2 separate regions of the Homo sapiens genome follow, and region 1 is linked to region 2. Evidence: promoter capture Hi-C in 16 types of primary human blood cells and fetal thymus (Javierre and others, 2016). All regions are on one chromosome and are shown on one strand. The core of a region is centred on a gene start or on the middle of the fragment in contact, and the rest is flanking DNA. Distances in the headings are between cores, read along the strand shown. Region 1 overlaps HACD1 (3-hydroxyacyl-CoA dehydratase 1). Region 2 holds the start of CACNB2 (calcium voltage-gated channel auxiliary subunit beta 2).

Region 1 (4,056 bases), core at 231-2,730, 550 kb before region 2:
AAATGCAGTGGAAAACATGTTCTGGGCTGAGTGATTCTCTGGCCAGTGGGACTCAGTAGCTGGCAGCATGGTGAACTGGGAAGCTGCTACTGGTACAGGCCAGAGTCTACATCTCCCAGGACAACTGAAAAAGGTGCTTCAGGCTCTCCATTTCCATGGAGATGCCTCAAAAGCCATGAGGAGGAAGAGAACCCACTGTTTGAACCTGTAACTGTCAGACAGACACCGAAGCAAGCTCTGGTTCTGTTCAAGTAATGCTACCATTAACCTGCCATTGGGAAAAGAGAGGGATGTGAACCAATAGAGTAGGCATCCCCTCCTTAGCTCTCCCGAACTGGCTGGGGTAGAAAATCAGATACAGAATCAGGCTGAAGTGGTAGAAGACAAGGGGAAAACATATCTTTCACCACTAAGTCAATTTTGACTTTGGGAAAGATACAAGTTGGAGACATCTGCCGGGGGCAGGGGCTCATGCCTGTAATCCCAGCACTTTGGGAGACCAAGGTGGGTGGATCCCTTGAGGTCAGGAGTTTGAGACCAGCCTGGCCAATATGGTGAAACCTCGTCTCTACTAAAAATACAAAAATTAGGTGGGCACTGTGGCAGGCGCTTGTAATCCCATGAACCTGAGAGGCAGCGATTGGAGTGAGCTGAGATGGCGCCACTGCACTCCAGCCTGGGCAAAAGCGCAAGACTCTGTCTCAAAAAAAACAACAAAAAAAAGTTGGAGACCTCAAGGGGCTGGCCAAGTTTTATGCGCATCTCCTTTAGATGAAATAATTTGTATCATGTCGATGTAGATTTTAGAGCTATCAATATTTGACTTAAAAATATATCACTATTAGCCCCCACGCCTTTTTTTTTTTGAGACAGAGTCTCACTCTTATTGCCCAGGCTGGAATGCAATGGCATCATGTCAGTTCACTGCAACTTCTGCCTCTCAGGTTCAAACGATTCTCCTGCCTCAGCCTCCTGAGTAGCTGAGATTACAGGCATGCGCCACCATGCCCAGTTAATTTCTGTATTTTAGTAGAGACAGGGTTTTGCCATGTTGGCCAGCCTGGTCTCGAACTCCTGACCTCAGGTGATCCACCTGCCTCGGCCTCCCAAAGTGCTGGGATTATAGGCATGAGCCACGGAGCCCTGCCTCACTATTAGCAGCACTGAAATGGAGTAAAGCCTTACCAATTCACTTCAACTGCTGAAAGATGATGAGAAATTAGTGAAGAGGCTGACTTATTCAAAATCCTTTAAGAAAAGAGGCTTTATTATTTGCAAGTACATAGAGCAACACAAATAAGACTCAAAACTACTCCTAGATGATTTTTCCAAGTATATGCTTAATGAATAGATAGAAATGATCTGAAATTTTCTTGGACACAGTGTTTATACTCAGACATATAATTCTAAATGCTTGTAAAAAGTGCACTAATGCTTTAAACATGATTTGTTTTTATCTTTCTTTAAAAAAATCATACTAAGCTGATGTTTAAATGATTTTGAGAAAGCAATAATCCATGCGTTAATTTACCTGCCTTTATTCTCATAGCTAATGAACTGTCTTCTGCCTCTATCTCCCTTCACTTTTCCCAAATTATCAGTAAATATGGAGTTAAACCGAAGTTTTAATGTATTTGTAAGCAATTATTTCTAATTATTTCCCCTTGCATATTATTATATCCTTTCAAAAATTTCCACATCATATGTCAAATCAAAGTACTAATAAGTATATACTTACAAGGTATATATGATGCCATGGTTATAAGAAGAAAATAATAGTAGTCAAAAGAGACATTGTATTTGTTAGGAAGTCTTATTGAAAACATTCCTGTTTTCTTCACATGCGGCAAGGCAGCGTATATTGTAAGAAGTTCACCAGCAACTCCAACAGGATATAAGATGATAAAAAAATTATATCTGGAGAAAGAAAAACCTCAGAGAATTATTTTTCTACAATAATTATTAGACTTTACATTGCAGGTCTATTGCTACTACTAAATTTAAACTTCAAAATTCTCTTTTCTTTACATATTTACAATAACCTTACGTAAGGTTAATAGTTCTACTTTAATCATTTGCTTATTGATTATCATCCTTTTTTTCCTAATACCAGTTTCCATAATAGGCAATGTCTTTTTAATAAAATAGTATCAACTTATTTTAGAGTACCAAAATACTTTTATGTATTAAAAAATGTATATGTAGTTTTTCTTGTTTTTGTTTTGAGATGGAGTTCGCTCTTGTCACCAGGCTGGAGTGCAGCGGCACAGTCTTGGCTCACTGCAACCTCCACCTCCTGGGTTCAAGTAATTCTCCTGCCTCAGCCTCCCAAGTAGCTGGGATTACAGGTGTGTGCCACCATACCCAGCTAATTTTTGGTGTTTTTTTTTTTTGTTTTTTGTTTTTTTTTGAGATGGAGTCTTACTCTGTCGCCTAGACTGGAGTGCAGTGGCACAATCTTGGGTCACTGCAACCTCCACCTCCCGGGTTCAAGCAATTCTCCTGCCTCAGCCTCCTGGGTAGCTGGGACTACAGGCGCCCGCCACCACGCCCGGTTAATTTTTGTATTTTTAGTAGAGACAGGGTTTCACCATGTTGGTCAGGCTGGTCTTGAACTCCTGCCTTCAGGTGATCCACCCGCCTCAGCCTCCCAAAGTGCTGGGATTACAGACATGAGCCACCATGCCCGGCCTATGTAGCTTTAAAAAAAGTATTGTAATGGTAACTTCTTTGGTGCATAAAATCACAAATGACTGCTTTTGTCCGCGGCAGCTAGTAATTTATTGATCAAACACTGCGTTTAAAAAGACCAGTGATTATCCTAAATTTTATATCTAAACCTTGAAATTACCAAGGTAGTTATTTTTAAGAGGCATTTGAAAAAGTCTTTGTGGTTACTAATGAAAACCAATTATTGCAGAAAACTGATAATACCACCTGAAGCATGAGTAGCTACTAATGAGTATATTATATTGTCTAAAACTGCTACCGTAACAAAATAAATTGACAAGTTAGTTCCTGAATTCCCACATTAAAAGAAGAGTGAGCTTGTTTAAAGTAGAGTTAAGAAAGTTCTACTCTAAATCCAAAGTCATCATGTGTTCATTTGGTCTGTGGCAAGGTCTGGAACACACAGTAGGCCAGGCATCCTGTATGCTTCCAATTAGGAAACACTCTGTGTTCTACTGGCTGGTCTCCAATAAGAGGGGCCTAAAGGATCCAAGATGATCATATTTCTTCATTAAAAAAAAAAATCATTTTTCTCTGACTCAGTCACTATATAACAGTTACCACAGAAAACTTAAGAGGCCAGAGTGCAAGACCACTCTGGGCGATATAGTAAGACCCCGTCTCACAAAAAAAAATTTAATGAGCAGACCACAGTGGTGCATGCCTGTCGCCCCAGCTACTTGGGAGGCTAAGGCAGGAGGATTGCTTGAGCCTAGGAGGTCAAGGGGGCAGTGAGCCAAGACCGCACCACTGTACTCCAGCCTGGGTGACACAGCGAGACCCTGTCTCAAAAAAAATAAATTTAATTTAAAAAAAGAAAAATGTTTTTAATTTAAAACAAAAGGTCAACATTTTGATGGAAAAAGAAATCAAATTAATCTGTATTTTATTTAATCATTTTGTTGGCATTAGGAAATATCTATAAAGAAAAGTCAAAGTTGTCAGTATTGAAGAAGCTTGGAGACAAATTAAAAATTGCATTATTCCTGTATGTCAAGGATATGCGAAGATAAGAGATGGGGAGAAGGGCAGAATTATTTGCCAAAATAGATGAGCTATTCAAGAAAGAAGAATGATTCCTTCACTGTACCTGTTAATCCCTTCTTGGCCTTGGAGAAACTCCCTGCTTTCTTACCAGTTTTGGGTAGTTATTTGTGTATCATTTAAATCAATCTTTCCCTATTCCTCAATTTATTAAATCCCATAACTGGACATTTTATATACCTGTCTCAGTAAAATACCCAAACTGATTAAGTTGCAATTTTTACTTTATGTGGTTTTCAAAAGATTTTTTTTTTTTTTGGCAGGATTGTTCTTCAATAGAAG
Region 2 (3,671 bases), core at 1,114-3,613:
CAGAGTTTCTTTATCACCTCGTTGATTGATGGGCATTTGGGTTGGTTCCACAATTTTGCTACTGTGAATTGTGCTGCTGTAAACATGCATGTGCAAGTATATTTTTTGAATCATGACTTCTTTTCCTCTGGGTAGATACCCAGTAGTGGCATTGCTACATCAAATGGTAGTTCTACTTTTAGTCCTTTAAGGAATCTCCACACTGTTTTCCATAGTGGCTGTACTAGTTTACATTCCCACCAGCAGTGCAGAAGTGTTCCCTGATCACTGCATCCATGCCAACATCTGTTTTTTGATTCTTTGATTATGGTCATTCTTACAGGGGTAAGGTGGTATCACTTTGTGGTTTTGAGTTGCATTTCCCTGATCATTATTGATGTTGAGCATTTTCTCATATGTTTGTTGGCCATTTGTATATCTTCTTTTGAGAATTTTCTATTTGTGTCCGTAGCCCATAAAAGTGGCATTTTTAATACCAAAGTTTAGGAAAATCAATGATGCTTTATGGCTAAATCTTTAACTGTATCAAGACCCATTCTTTAAGCCTGGCGCAAATCAGTGCTATGGTGGAGATGATAGGTTTAAAATGTCTATGCTTATCTTTGAGGAGAAAAGTACTGTATCTCATGTAATTTAATATATCATAGTAAACTATAGAAGGCAGTTGAAGCCTATTATAGTAAATTTTTGCATGTGTATTTCAATATACCAAACTTTCAGTTTGTTGTTACAAAATAACATATAAATAGGTTTCTGGAGCTGGATGGGCACGGTGGCTCACACCTGTAATCCCAGCACTTTGGGAGGCCAAGGTGGGCGGATCATGAGGTCAGGAGTTTGCGACCAGCCTGGCCAACATGGCGAAACCCTGTCTCTACTAAAAAATACAAAAATTAGGCTGGATGCAGTGGCTCAAATCTGTAATCCCAGCACTTTGGGAGGCAGAGGCGGGCAGATCACCTGAGGTCAGGAGTTCGAGACCAGCCTGGGCAACGTGGTGAAACCCCATCTCTACTAAAAATACAAAAAAATTAGCCGGCTGTGGTGGCGTGCACCTGTAATCCCAGCTACTCGGGAGGCTGAGGCAGGAGAATGGATTGAACCCAGGAGGCGAAGGTTGCAGTGAGCCAAGATCGTGCCACTGTATTCCTGCCTGGGTGACAAGAGTGAAATTCTGTCTCAAAAAAAAAAAAAAAAAAATGCCTGGAAAACTCATTACAGAAGTTTCCACTGTAGTAAAATTTGTTGAAATAAGTTGCACTCAATCATGTAAAAATGTGGCTCCTTGGGACTATCTGAACGGAATGTTGTAAGTGAAACACCCTCACCATAGTCACTATCCTGTTATCAAGAATTCTGGATCTTAAGGAAGTGCTTGTTTTGTCAAAAATGTGACACTAAGACTTTTCACCCCTATAGAAAAACCTCAACCCTGGCCTGGCGTGGTGTCCCACCCCTGTGATCCCAGCACTTTGGGAGGCCGAGGCCGGTGGATTACTTGAGGTCAGGAGTTCAAGACCAGCCCGGGCAACATGGTGAAACCCCGTCTGCACTAAAAACACAAAAATTATCTGGGCTTGGTGGCCTGTGGCTGTAATCCCAGCTATTCGTGAGGCTGAGGCTAGAGAATCGCTTGAACCCAGGAGGCGGAGGTTGCAGTGAGCTGAGATCGCGCCATTGCACTCCAGCCTGGGCGACAGAGTGAGACTCCGTCTAAAACAACAACAAGCAACAACAACAACAAACTTCAATTATGTTTGGAAAGAAGTGCTAATTTAATTTGGCAAAGATGAAGACAGCAGTCATAAAGCAAAACATTCGGTCTCAGGTTGGGTGGATTCCCACCTAGTTGACGAGGCCAGCTGCAGATTCAGGTGGGATCACCTGATGATCTTTATCAATGCCATTTCTTTCTCTGGATCCTTATTACTGACATTAGCAAGGGCTTTCAGCTGCCCAGAAGATGTTCTTTGCAGACATTTGCTCTCCCGGGCTGCCAGCAGGCTTTACAAATTTAAAACTTTCAGTGTAGGAACCCAGCCTCCGTCGTCCTTCCCCTCCAAAGTTAAGAGATCTGCTCTAAGGGTTCCTGAGGGGTGGTCTGGGGCCATGGGAACAGGATCAAGGCCCCCTGAGCGCCGGGCCTGGCTTCTGTGGCTTCGCAAACTTTTCAGCCTGTGTGCCACGGCGACGCGCAGCGGCTGAGTCGGAGCCCACGCGGCGCGCGCCTCCCGCGAGGAACTTTTCGGCTTGTAGGCTGCTTGTCACTCTCGCTTTCCGACGCGCCTCCCCCTGGCTCGCGCTCCCGGAGTTCCCTCCCCTCCTGGCGAGGACCTTTCCCGGCGCCCGCGGCTCCGATCCCCGCCGCGCTGCGCCCGCTCTCCCGGCCCCGGCTGCCCCGCTGAGGGCTCCCCTCTCCCAGGCACCGCAGCCGCGCCCCCGCGTCCCGCCTCCCGAGCGGCTCGCTTCGCCCGATGCCCCGGCCCCGTCCCGCGCACTGAGCGCCTGGCAGCAGGGCGCCGAGTCCCGGGGCGCTGCGGGGCGCTGCGCCGAGAACGGCCGGGCCTGAGCCCTGGGCGGCCCCCAGAGCCGATCAGAGCGCGGGGAGGCGGGGGCGAGGAGGAGGGGACCCGCCGCCGGGGGCTGGCTGCTTCGCTCCGAGCCGACTTTTCGCCAATGGTCCAAAGGGACATGTCCAAGTCGCCTCCCACAGCGGCGGCGGCGGTGGCGCAGGAGATCCAGATGGAACTGCTAGAGAACGTGGCTCCCGCGGGGGCGCTCGGAGCCGCCGCACAGGTAGCGAGAGCGCGGCGCCTTCTCCTTCCTTTGTGAGCCGCCGGGCAGGGCACCGACCTCGGGTTCTCCCGGCGCCTCCACTGCAGGGATCTCTAGCCTCGCACCTCCTCCCCTCGTCGCCTGCCCACCCTCTGCTCCTCTCCTGGCGCCGGGGACCCTGCCCCTTTGCGCCTTTTCCTGGCTCTGCCTCGGCTTCCATTTTTCTCTGCTTCCGAAAAGCCAGTGGGGAAGGGCGGGGGAGACCTGCCAGTCCTCCCAGACTTCTCCCGGGTTGCTCCAGCTGGCCCTCCTCGCCCCTTCCCGGGAGAGGCACATGGAGAGACATGAATCAGGGGAGTGGACTGGACCTGCTGAAGATCGTGAGTCCGGGTGGGCGGGAGGGGGCCCGCTTCCCGCAGCGCTTTCTACGATGCCGACTCTCCTGGCCACGCTCCGAGCCGGGGTGGGCGTGGGTGTGAGGATGATGGGGTGCAGGTGGGCAGGAGGGGAGCGAATATGGGGGTGCCCTGCCGGATCCCCCCAGAGCTGCCCGGACCACGCTGCGCACCTGGGGCTGACAGCTCTCCAGTCCCCTCGGGCACTTGCCAAGGTTTGCCTGTCCCACCTCATGCCTTTCCCTTAAGAAGCGAGTGAGCTGGGGACAAGAAAGTTTTTATTTTTCCGTCTCCCCTGAAATGTTAGCCATTTCAGGGATCTCCAGGATCCCCTTTCTCTCCGTTGAGTGTTTGCGGTTTCTGGAAAAAGTCAGCTTCGCTGCAGGTTGTTGTGAAATTGGAGATGTCAGTTGTAGGCGCTGGGCAATGACAAGGTGGTTTTTACGTTTTTACGTAAGGCTTCAGCAGGTACAGTTTGGGTTACAGACACCTCCAGGTCTC

What was found. The method cuts DNA at HindIII sites, captures the fragments that hold promoters and counts their contacts. A CHiCAGO score of 5 or more calls a contact.
Region 1: a contact is called between a fragment that was not itself captured here and the fragment with the promoter of CACNB2 in region 2, in 1 of 17 cell types (fetal thymus). The highest score is 5.5, in fetal thymus.

The regions. Positions count from the first base shown.
Region 1 is chr10:17,592,467-17,596,522 of GRCh38, forward strand. HACD1 (3-hydroxyacyl-CoA dehydratase 1) reads right to left here. Exons shown (of 7, transcript NM_014241.4): 6 at 1,739-1,917. Among named protein-coding and RNA genes, the nearest start is that of HACD1, 23 kb to the right of the region's middle. The HindIII fragment of the contact is 4,408 bases long and covers 1-3,684 here.
Region 2 is chr10:18,138,061-18,141,731 of GRCh38, forward strand. It overlaps CACNB2 (calcium voltage-gated channel auxiliary subunit beta 2), which reads left to right and starts at 2,364. Exons shown (of 14, transcript NM_201596.3): 1 at 2,364-2,796. The coding sequence starts at 2,677. The HindIII fragment of the contact is 10,163 bases long and covers 1-3,671 here.